2 separate regions of the Homo sapiens genome follow, and region 1 is linked to region 2. Evidence: promoter capture Hi-C in human tissues and cell types (Jung and others, 2019). All regions are on one chromosome and are shown on one strand. Each heading gives the region's core, a stretch centred on a gene start or on the middle of the fragment in contact. The rest is flanking DNA. Distances are from core to core; before and after follow the strand shown. Region 1 has its middle 47 kb from the start of DEPDC1B. Region 2 holds the start of DEPDC1B (DEP domain containing 1B).

Evidence for each region. Contacts are between HindIII fragments. The study calls those that stand out against the background at their distance.
Region 1: a contact is called between a fragment that was not itself captured here and the fragment with the promoter of DEPDC1B in region 2, in 1 of the 25 tissues and cell types used here (H1 embryonic stem cells).

What each region holds. Positions count from the first base shown.
Region 1 is chr5:60,744,619-60,749,375 of GRCh38, forward strand. It overlaps the pseudogene KRT8P31. Among named protein-coding and RNA genes, the nearest start is that of DEPDC1B, 47 kb to the left of the region's middle. The HindIII fragment of the contact is 7,640 bases long and covers 1-4,757 here.
Region 2 is chr5:60,697,940-60,702,643 of GRCh38, forward strand. DEPDC1B (DEP domain containing 1B) reads right to left here and starts at 2,227. Exons shown (of 11, transcript NM_018369.3): 1 at 2,107-2,227. The coding sequence starts at 2,154. It overlaps LOC124900982 (a long non-coding RNA gene), which reads left to right and starts at 2,301. Exons shown (of 2, transcript XR_007058779.1): 1 at 2,301-2,402; 2 at 3,715-4,148. The HindIII fragment of the contact is 4,370 bases long and covers 547-4,704 here.

The sequences.
Region 1 (4,757 bases), core at 1,685-4,184, 47 kb after region 2:
CTCCTGCTGCAGGAGGCTCCAGTTGGTCTCCAGCATCTTGTTCTGCTGCTCCAGGAACTGTACCTTGTCTATGAAGGAGGCAAACTTGTTGTTGAGTGTCTTGATCTGGTTCTTCTCCTGGGTGTGGTCTCCTGGATGCTGGAGTCCATCTCCAGTTAAGGGAGTTCAGCAGGCTCTGGTTGACCGTGACAGCGGTGATGCCTTCCATGCCACTGGCCCCATTAAAGCCTCTGCCCAGGCCACCCCGGAAGCTGCTGCTGCCCACTTAAGAGAAGCTCGAGGAGTTGATGCGGGCACCGGGCCCACATGGTGGACACCTTGTAGGACTTCTGGGTCATCCTGATGGACATGGTGGAGGCAGGAGTGGAGGCAGGTGGCCTGAACCAGGCAGAGATTCCAGAAGGAGAGGACAAGCTGCTTCTTGGTATTTATTTATTTATATTTTAAATTCAAGGGAACATGTGCAGGTTTGTTATACAGGTAAACTTGTGCCACGGGGGTGTGTTGCATAGACTGTTTCATCACTCAGGTATTAAGCCTAGACCCTTTCATTATTTTTCCTGATCCTCTCCCTTCTCCCAGACTTCAGCCTTAGACCCCAGTGTCTGTTGTTCCCTCTATATGTCCATGTGTTCTCATCATTTAGCTTTCACTTATAAGTGAGAACATATGTTGTTTGCTAAGGATAATAGCCTCCAGCTCCATCCAGGTTCCTGCAAAGGGCATGATCTTGTTCTTTGTTATGGCTGCATGTATTCCATGGCGTTATCTGTGCCACACTTTCCTTATTCAGTCTACCATTGGTGGGCATTTAGGTTGATTCCATGTCTTTACTACTGTGAATAGTGCTGGAGTGAACATACGTGTGCACGTGTCTTTATGATAGAATGATTTATATTTCTTTCAGTATATACCCTGTAAAGGGATTGCTGGATCAAATGGTAGTTCTGTTTTTAGCTCTTTGAGGAATCACCACATAGCTTTCTACAGTGGTTGAACTAATTTACACTCCCACCAACAGTGTATAAGCATTCTTTTTCTCTGCAACCTTGCCAGCATCTGTTTTATTTCTTGACTTTTTAATAATAGTCATCTGACTGGTGTGACATGAAATCTCACTGTGATTTTGATTTATATTTCTCTAATGATCAGTGATGTTGAGCTTTTTTTCATGTGCTTTCTGGCTTCATGTATGTCTTCTTCTGAAAAGTGTTCATGTCCTTTGCCCACTTTTTAATGTTTTTTTTCTTATAAATTTGTTTAAGTTCCTTATAGATGCTAGATATCAGACCTTTGTTAGATGCATAGTTTCTAAAAATTTTCTCTCATTCTATAAACTGTCTATTTATGTTCTTGATAGTTTCTTTTGCTGTACAGAAGCTCTTTAATTATATCCCATTTGTCAATTTTTGCTTTTGTTGCAATTGCGTTTGGCATCTTTGTCACGAAATCTTTGCCTGTTCCCATGTCCAGAATGGTATTACGTAGGTTGTCCTTCAGGGTTTTTATAGTTTGGGGGTATACATTTTAGTCTTTAGTCCATCGTATGTGGTATAAGGAAAAGGTCCAGTTTCTACTGTCTCTACTAAAAATACAAAAATTAGCCAGGTATGATGGCAGGTGTCTATAATCCCAGCTACTCAGGAGGCTAAGGCAGGAGAATTGCTTGTACCCGGAAGGCAGAGGTTGCTGTGAGCTGAGATTGCGCCTCTGTACTCCAGCCTGGATGACAGAGCGATACTCCGTCTCAAAACAAACAAACAAGCAAACAAACAAAAACTATTTGTTTAACAGCAGAATATCTGACTTGACTTGTTTGCATGTTTGTTGCCCTCTATCCAAGCGAAAATCTCTGTGGGGATTGGTATTATTTGACTTCATTTTTATATTCTAGCACAGCAGTTGGCATATAGTAGGAGTTTAACAAATTGTTGAATGATTGACTAAACCACTAAAGAGTGAGCAGAGGAAGAGAATTTATAACAATAGCACATACTTATTCAGTGCTTCGTTCATTCATTCATTCATTCAACAACAGTTATTGAACTCCCGTAATATGCCAGCCATTGTTCTAGGCACTTGCAGTGAACAAAATAGACAAAATCATCTACCCTTGAAGAGATTACTTTCTCATGAGGAAGACAGTCAATAAATAACATTAATAGTAACTAAATGCATTGTATAGCATGTTAGAAGGTAATAAGTGCTGTATAGGAAAAAGAAAGATGAGGGTGCAGGCTGCAGTACTGAAAAAGTGAGATTTGAACAAAGGAGGGAATTGAAGGGTTTAGCCAAGCAGTTATTTTGGGAACAGTCCCTTAGGCAGAGAAAAATAAATGAAGAACCCTAAGATGGAAATGCACTTACAATGGTCCAGTGACCAGCAAGGAGGCCAGTGTGGCTGGAGCAGAGGGAACAAAGTGGGGATTGGTAGGCGGTGAGGACAGAGAAGCAATGACAGGGTTTTTACGCTCAGTGAAACCAGAAACCACTGTAGGGTTCGGAATAAAAGAGTTACATGATCTGATTTATATTAAGAGATGACTTTGGCTGCTATTTGGACAAGAAGTTTTAGGGAAGCAAAGGCAGAAACAGAGAGTCACACAGGAAGCTATTCCAGGAATCCCGGCATGAGATGATAAGGGCCCAGGATTGGTCAGATTCTGGTTATACTTTGAGAGGAAGCCAGCAGGATTTCTTGTTGGATTTGGCGTTGAGTGAGACAGAAAGGACCTGAGGATGACTCTGAGGTTTTTAGCCTGAATAACTGGAAGGAAAGCACTGCTCTAAAAGTTTTCCCTGTTTTAACTCATCTAATATCCCACAATAACTGGATAAAGAAGTATTGTTTCCATTTTCAGTTGGGACACTAAGAGACAGAGAAGCTGTCCAGGTTATAGCGCTAGCAAGAAACAGAGTCAGGATTTGACCAGGCAGGCTGGTTCCAGAGCCTGTGCTCCCAACCAGTGCACCACGCTTCCTCTCCATGACAGCATCTAGTAGGATGAAAGGCTTTTTATACAGGGATAATATAATAATATTATAATCTAGGCAAATATTATTATAATATAATCTAGACTATATTATAATCTAGGATAATATTATAATCTAGGAAAAATTATTCGGGTCTGAACAAGGAGGGTTGCCACAAGAATAAAAAGAAAGGCATACTTTCATGGGCAAGATAACCCAAAATGGGCAAAAGACACACTGACCAGAATTTGTGCAACTTTTAAGATAGAAGGCACAAGAGGGCTCCTGTCCGTAATCCCAGTGCTTTGAGAGGCTGAAGTGGGAGAATCGTTTGACGCTAGGCGTTCAAGACCAGCCTGGGCTACATAACAAGATCTCGTCTCTACAAAAGATAAAAAAAATTATCCAGGCATGTTGCCACTCCGGAAGCTGAGGCAGGAAGATTGCTTGAGCCCAGTAGTGTGAGGTTACTGTGAGCTATGAAGGTGCCACTGTGCTCCAGCTGGGGCAACAGAGGAAGACCCATCTCTTATAAAAAAAATAAAAGGAACACAGTAGCTCCGAGTTTACATCTCCACATTCAAATACTCAGATGCTTATATCATTCTTATTTAAGTTGTAAGGACTATGTACAGAGTGTCCTTTTGTGTGGCCTGGGCACTTAGAGATACTTACCTCATATCAAGCTTTCTCCCTTTAGTAACCAGAGTACATCCCAAACTAATTGAATCCTGTAGGTCCTAGAATACAAACAAGGTGCAGCAATGTTTTAATAATGCTGTAGTTTGAATATAGGCAAAAATGTTCATATTTAGATTTGAAGAGTGTTATAGTTTGTAACTTTGTTGAGTTATAGGTACATGTGCAGCCTGACCTGATACTGGCTGTCAATAAAAAGTATGAACATGCCCAGCCAGTGCCAGGAAAGTAAGAGCCCTTTGGCCCTCTCTCTGGGGCAGCCTGGTATAAAAGACATGTTTTGTGTCCTGTTATATTGTGGTTGTATCTGCTAGAAACATCTGGAGGAATTTCTATCTCCACCCCGTCCCCAATCATCATGTATCTTATGCTGCCTGAAACAAAGAGAACCATAACCCTTGCTCTCATTTAATCTAGGGACCTACCTTAAACTCCACACTCAAATCTGAGTCTATTTCTCTGTGCAAGGGGCCACTTTCTTAGTGAAAAAATAAAACGGCACTTACTTTCACCTACAGAACTAGTCAATACAAACCAGAACTGTGTGAATTAAAGATAGGCTTTAACTCTTCTAAAGAGAAAAATAAGTATTCCTGTCTATTTTAGGTAATACTTTGTGTGGCAGACTGTATTTTCCAAGTACAATATTTCTCCCATCCTACATGTACTTACGAGGTAGCTTTTACACTCTTCCCATTGAGGGACATGGTCTGTGTCCTCTCCTCTTGAAAATGGGTGGGCTTTTGTACAGGTGAAGTGATATTCCCTGACTTCTATGGCTAGGTTATAAAAGGCAATACTGCTTCCATTTTGTTCACTGGAATGCTTACTCCTGAAGCCTTTGGTCTGACTTCCCTGAGACTGCCATGCTGTGAGGAAGCTCAAAGTAGCCCAAGGGGAAAGACCACACAGAGAGGACTTGAGACTACACAGAGATCTCCAGCCATCCCCCACTGCCTCAACCTCCTGGTTCCTGGTTAAGCCACAGTCTGACTGCAATTGCGCCAGGGACCCCAAACAATAACCACTCGGCTTCTCAAATCATTGATCCTTCAAAGTGGTAAGAGATGTAGCCTTGATGTAGC
Region 2 (4,704 bases), core at 977-3,476:
CTATATATGGACCCTCTGCATCCATGAAAAGAAGTACCTCATACAATTCTGTGAATATGAGACTAAAATACAATTCCAATTATGAGGTATTTTTTTTTTAGTCTAATGCAGGAAGAATGAAGACTAGTCACGTCAAGAACCACAGCCTTGCTATGTTTTCCTTGTGTAAGTGCTGTAAATAAATTGGTGAAGGGAATGATCAAATGCCTTATTTTCCTCCCTAAAGTTAGACTTATCAATATTCTTGACCCCAGATCATTCTGGTGTCTATACTGTATAGAGTGTTCGCAAAGATGAGTGCAATGATTCTTCCCATCCTCTCCACATGCACCTCTGTGGCTTTGCCACCCTGCCCATCAAGAAGTGGAGTTGAATTTCTAGAATCTGGATTTAGCTGTTTAACTTGCTTTGACCAATGAGATTTGAAGAAAAAGTCACAAGCTGAAACTTCCTTTTAGCTACGTTGGAACCATGAGACCACTACGTGAAGATGCCTCCGATAACCTGTTAGAGATATCTGGCCCAGGTAACAGCCAGGACCAAGTCAAGCAGCCATCTTCCATCATCCAGTAATAGCCAAGTCACATTATTTGTGGCACATGAGTGACCTCCACAAAAGAACCATTGACATGAGTCTAGCCCAGATTACTGATCCAAAGGATGAGCAAATAAAATGCTTGTCTTTATGCCAAATAAAACAATGTCACAGACTCTCCCAATCTCCTTATTATTTTTTTTTTTTTTTGAGATGGAGTTTCGCTCGTTGCCCAGGCTGGAGTGCAATGGCGCGATCTCAGCTCACTGCAACCTCTGCCTCCCAGGTTCAAGAGATTCTCCTGCCTCAGCCTCCTGAGTAGCTGAGACTATAGGCGCATGCCACCATGCCCAGCTAATTTTTGTATTTTTAGTACAGACGGGGTTTTGCTGTGTTGGCCAGGCTGGTCTCGAACTCCTGACCTCAAGCGATCCATCCCCTTAAATCATGTAAAATTTCATGAGTATGTGCCATGTGCAGTTTTCTGTGAAGAAGATCCTTAATCTTCATCAGATTCTCAAAGCGATCTATGAGCCAAATTTAAAAAGTAAAGACCCATCAGCCCCAACTATGATTTCTCTTCCAGAAGCTGGCCTTCTCAGCTCTGGCTTGACTTACTGGTATAGTGTGTGGCTGGCTTTGGAAAGAAAAGGAAACTCTATTTACATTATCTGTATCCCAGCATCCTCACCTCTTCCATGAGTCTAGCTGAGTAAGAGTTTGGATGTTAGTTCCCATCTTTTCCTGTGTATTCATTATAATGCATGGAACTATGAGAGTAATTCCCATGTTAAATGTGGCCAGAGAGGTCGGCAGACCAAGGAGCAAGTTACTGTCCTCCCAAATTACCATTACACTTCCACAGAAAGTCCTCTAAAAACTTGCCACAGACATTACCAAACTGTCACCCTTTATTGTTCCAAGTCAAAGCAGACCAAGTACACCTCAATACCAAAGCTTTTCTCCCAGAAAAAAAAAAAAAAAAAAACAGGAACTCAGAGTCGGCAAAGACTCTCCTAAAACATCTGTCCTGGCCAGCTCTTCATCTGGATCGGTGCTGACAGAAACAGAAACGCCAGGGGCCGGAAATGCGGCCAGCGCGATGCCCCTCTGTTCTGGGCACCGTTTATTCGAATACCCCGTCAGGTATCATCAGGTGTCACTCAGGAAGGAGACACGCCCTGCCTGGACTGCCGCGAACGCTGAGCGTTACGGGGTACGTGGTGGCCCCTCAGGTTACCGACCGGGTCGGTTAGATTCCAGAGGACAAAAGGCAGGGAACAGCCTGGTCTTGGGGTCTTTAAACAGAGAGGCGCCATCTACTGCCGAGAACCCAGTCAACATCTCATGGACAAAGCTGCACTAACCCCCGGCCGGCTGAGCTCTGGGCCCCGTTAGCCTTTCTTTGAGGCTCGTCCACTAAAAGGCAGCCCCAGTAGTCCCAGCTGAAATGCTCCACACCCGAGCCCCGCTGGCCTGCGGAAGCGAAGACTGACAAGCACTCTGTCCGCGCGCTGAGTGGGGGCTCGCGGCACCGGGTGCTCCGCCCAGGCCCCAGCACACTCACTCACCAGCCTGGTAGCTCGGTACGGCCCGGGCCCCACGATGCGATGCTCCATGGCGCGTAGGCAGCAGCGGCCGCAGCCGCGCCAGCGCTGATCCCCGCCAGCCGGAGGAGCAGCAGTTTGAATCCCAAGCCCGCGGGCTGCGGGCGCTGATTGGGCGGCGCGGCAGCACGTCACCGGAAATGCGCGGGGAGGCAGGCGTCTTCTCCGAGACCCGCGGCGCTGGGAGCTCCGCGTGCGAACTTGCCCGGGGCGAAATCTGTTGCCCACCCTGGTCCCACCGTGCGAGCACACCTAGGCAGGTGCGACTAAGGGGCCGGGGGCGTCTCCCCAGCGCTGGAAAACGCTGTGCAGCGCCCTTCCCAGATTTCTGCGTCCGCGCAACACAAACACACGCAACGCTATCTCTACAAAAGGGTCAATAATAGGTGTTATCCAGCGACCGAAACCCAGCTTTGGGCCGCGTGGATAAATACCTGTCCTCCCTACCAAGTGCACTGTGAGCCTGGAGGTGCTGCTAACGCTGGGAGAAGCGGTAGTGAAATGAAGCGAGGCGACAGCTTTTACCAGTGTAGGGACATTTAAAAACGGGATAGAGAGCACAAGGAGCGTAGACAGTGTGTTAAGGGCAATAAAGAGCGGGAAGGGAGCCCCGATTCCTCTTCTGTTTGTTCTCATGATAGTCTTTTCCCCTTTAATTTGAGTTCTATGTTTTGTATTGGGCTGATACTTTTAGTCCTCGGCAATAGGGTTGTGAGTCCTTTTTTGACTGCTTAGAATTTTCCCCCTGGGAATTGCTAGTCCGATTTGCAATCTTTCAGAGGGACAAATGAAGTAACTCCATATACTTAGGACTCTGTACACCTACTCAAATTTGGTCATCTCGGTAAGTACCCAGGACAAGACGTTGAAGGAGTGAAGGTGTGCCATTCCAAAATATGCCTAATTGGTATATTGATTATTTCGAGCGGAAAACATTGGAGAAATGGTAGTTTCAGAAAGGGCAAGCTGACCTGCCTCTTCGATGCAGCAGGCCACAAAGATTTCTCTGGGATGGGCATCCTCTCCCTACCACGGTGAGAAAATAGCCTTTATCACCAAAGGCTTGGAATTGAAGGCTGCAGTGGACCTGAATAAACATTCTTAACGAAGTAACCCTATCTTCCACTAGGAGATATAGGAGATTTTTTACATATATCTTCTAGTGACTCCCTAGAAAATGTTACTGCCTTTGTGAGCTGTGGAAGTTAACTCGAGTCACAGGGCACCAAAATATGTTAGCAGCTGCCCATATCCGAGACACGGCCCCAAAGTATGTTACAGGCAGTGAATTCCTACAGATCTGCAGCAACCTCAATTCTTGACTCCTCAGAAGAAAGAGTTCGACTGAGGGGCATAAGGCAAAAGGAGAGACCAAGGCAAGTATTAGAACAGAAGTGAAGTTTATTAAAAAGCTTTGAATGAAAGGAAGTACACTTGGAAGAGGGCCAAGCCAGTGACTTGAGAGATCTAGTGCGTAGTTTGACCTTTTGACCTGGGGTTTTATACGTTGGCATACTTCTGGGGTCTTGCTTTTGGGGCTTTGCATTACTTCTCTCCTGATTCTTCCCTTAGAGTGAGCTGTCCACAGGCGCATACTTGAGCCCACTTGCCCAACTCCTAAGATCTTATCGGGAAGCTGCTGATCAACAGTTCAAGTGTTTTCTATTAGGAGACTGCCTTTCCCTGGTGCCGGCTGTGACCAACTATTATTTTAGAGAGACAATTAACAACCACCTGACCATCACCTGATGGCTGCCTGACATTCCTGATGTGTGTGTGTATGAGGGGGAGCCCTCTCCTGCCCTGCTCATGCCTGACTAGCTACCTACTGTAACACCTTAACCAGATTTTCTTTGTCATGGCTTTTCTTCTCAAATTTATCTCTCTTTACCTAAAAAAATGAATAAAAGCATCTTACTTTGGCCACTTCTTCAGACTTCACTCTCTTGTGAAGATCCCCATGTGCACATAAAACTAATAAAATGTGTATACTTTTCTCCTGGTAATCTTCCTGGTGTCAGTGTGGTTTCTAGATACAACTGGAGAGCTCATTAAGAGGTAAAAGGGAGCTTGGAGGTGATCTCTGGCTCCCCTATAACATCATAAGAAAGATCTAAGTAAGGGATTGGACCACCTCTTCTCATCCTCAAAACCACACCACTACCACCACCCATTTGCTGCCTTAGGTTTTTATTTAGCCCAAGAAATGTCCTGAGATGATACATATATATTGCTTTTGTAATTAGAAAAAGCAATTTAAAATTTTTTTCTTACTTCCAGTAAGTGAATCCTTATCAGAACTTTTTTTCTTTTAACCTCTAAGCTCCATGGAAGAGATCTTCTTGTCCTTGGCAAGGAATATAAAGAGATACTTGTGTCCTTGACACAAGAAGCAGGAGAAAGGGAATTTTAAAGCCTTGTCTGAGACCTGCCACCACCTATCATGGTGGTGAAACTAGAATCTGATACAAAACATTATGTCCAGCATTATGCAGCTTTCTAGTTCGGTAAGTATCACAGACTGTGAAATTCCATAGATCTGGATTTCAATAATGACTGGTA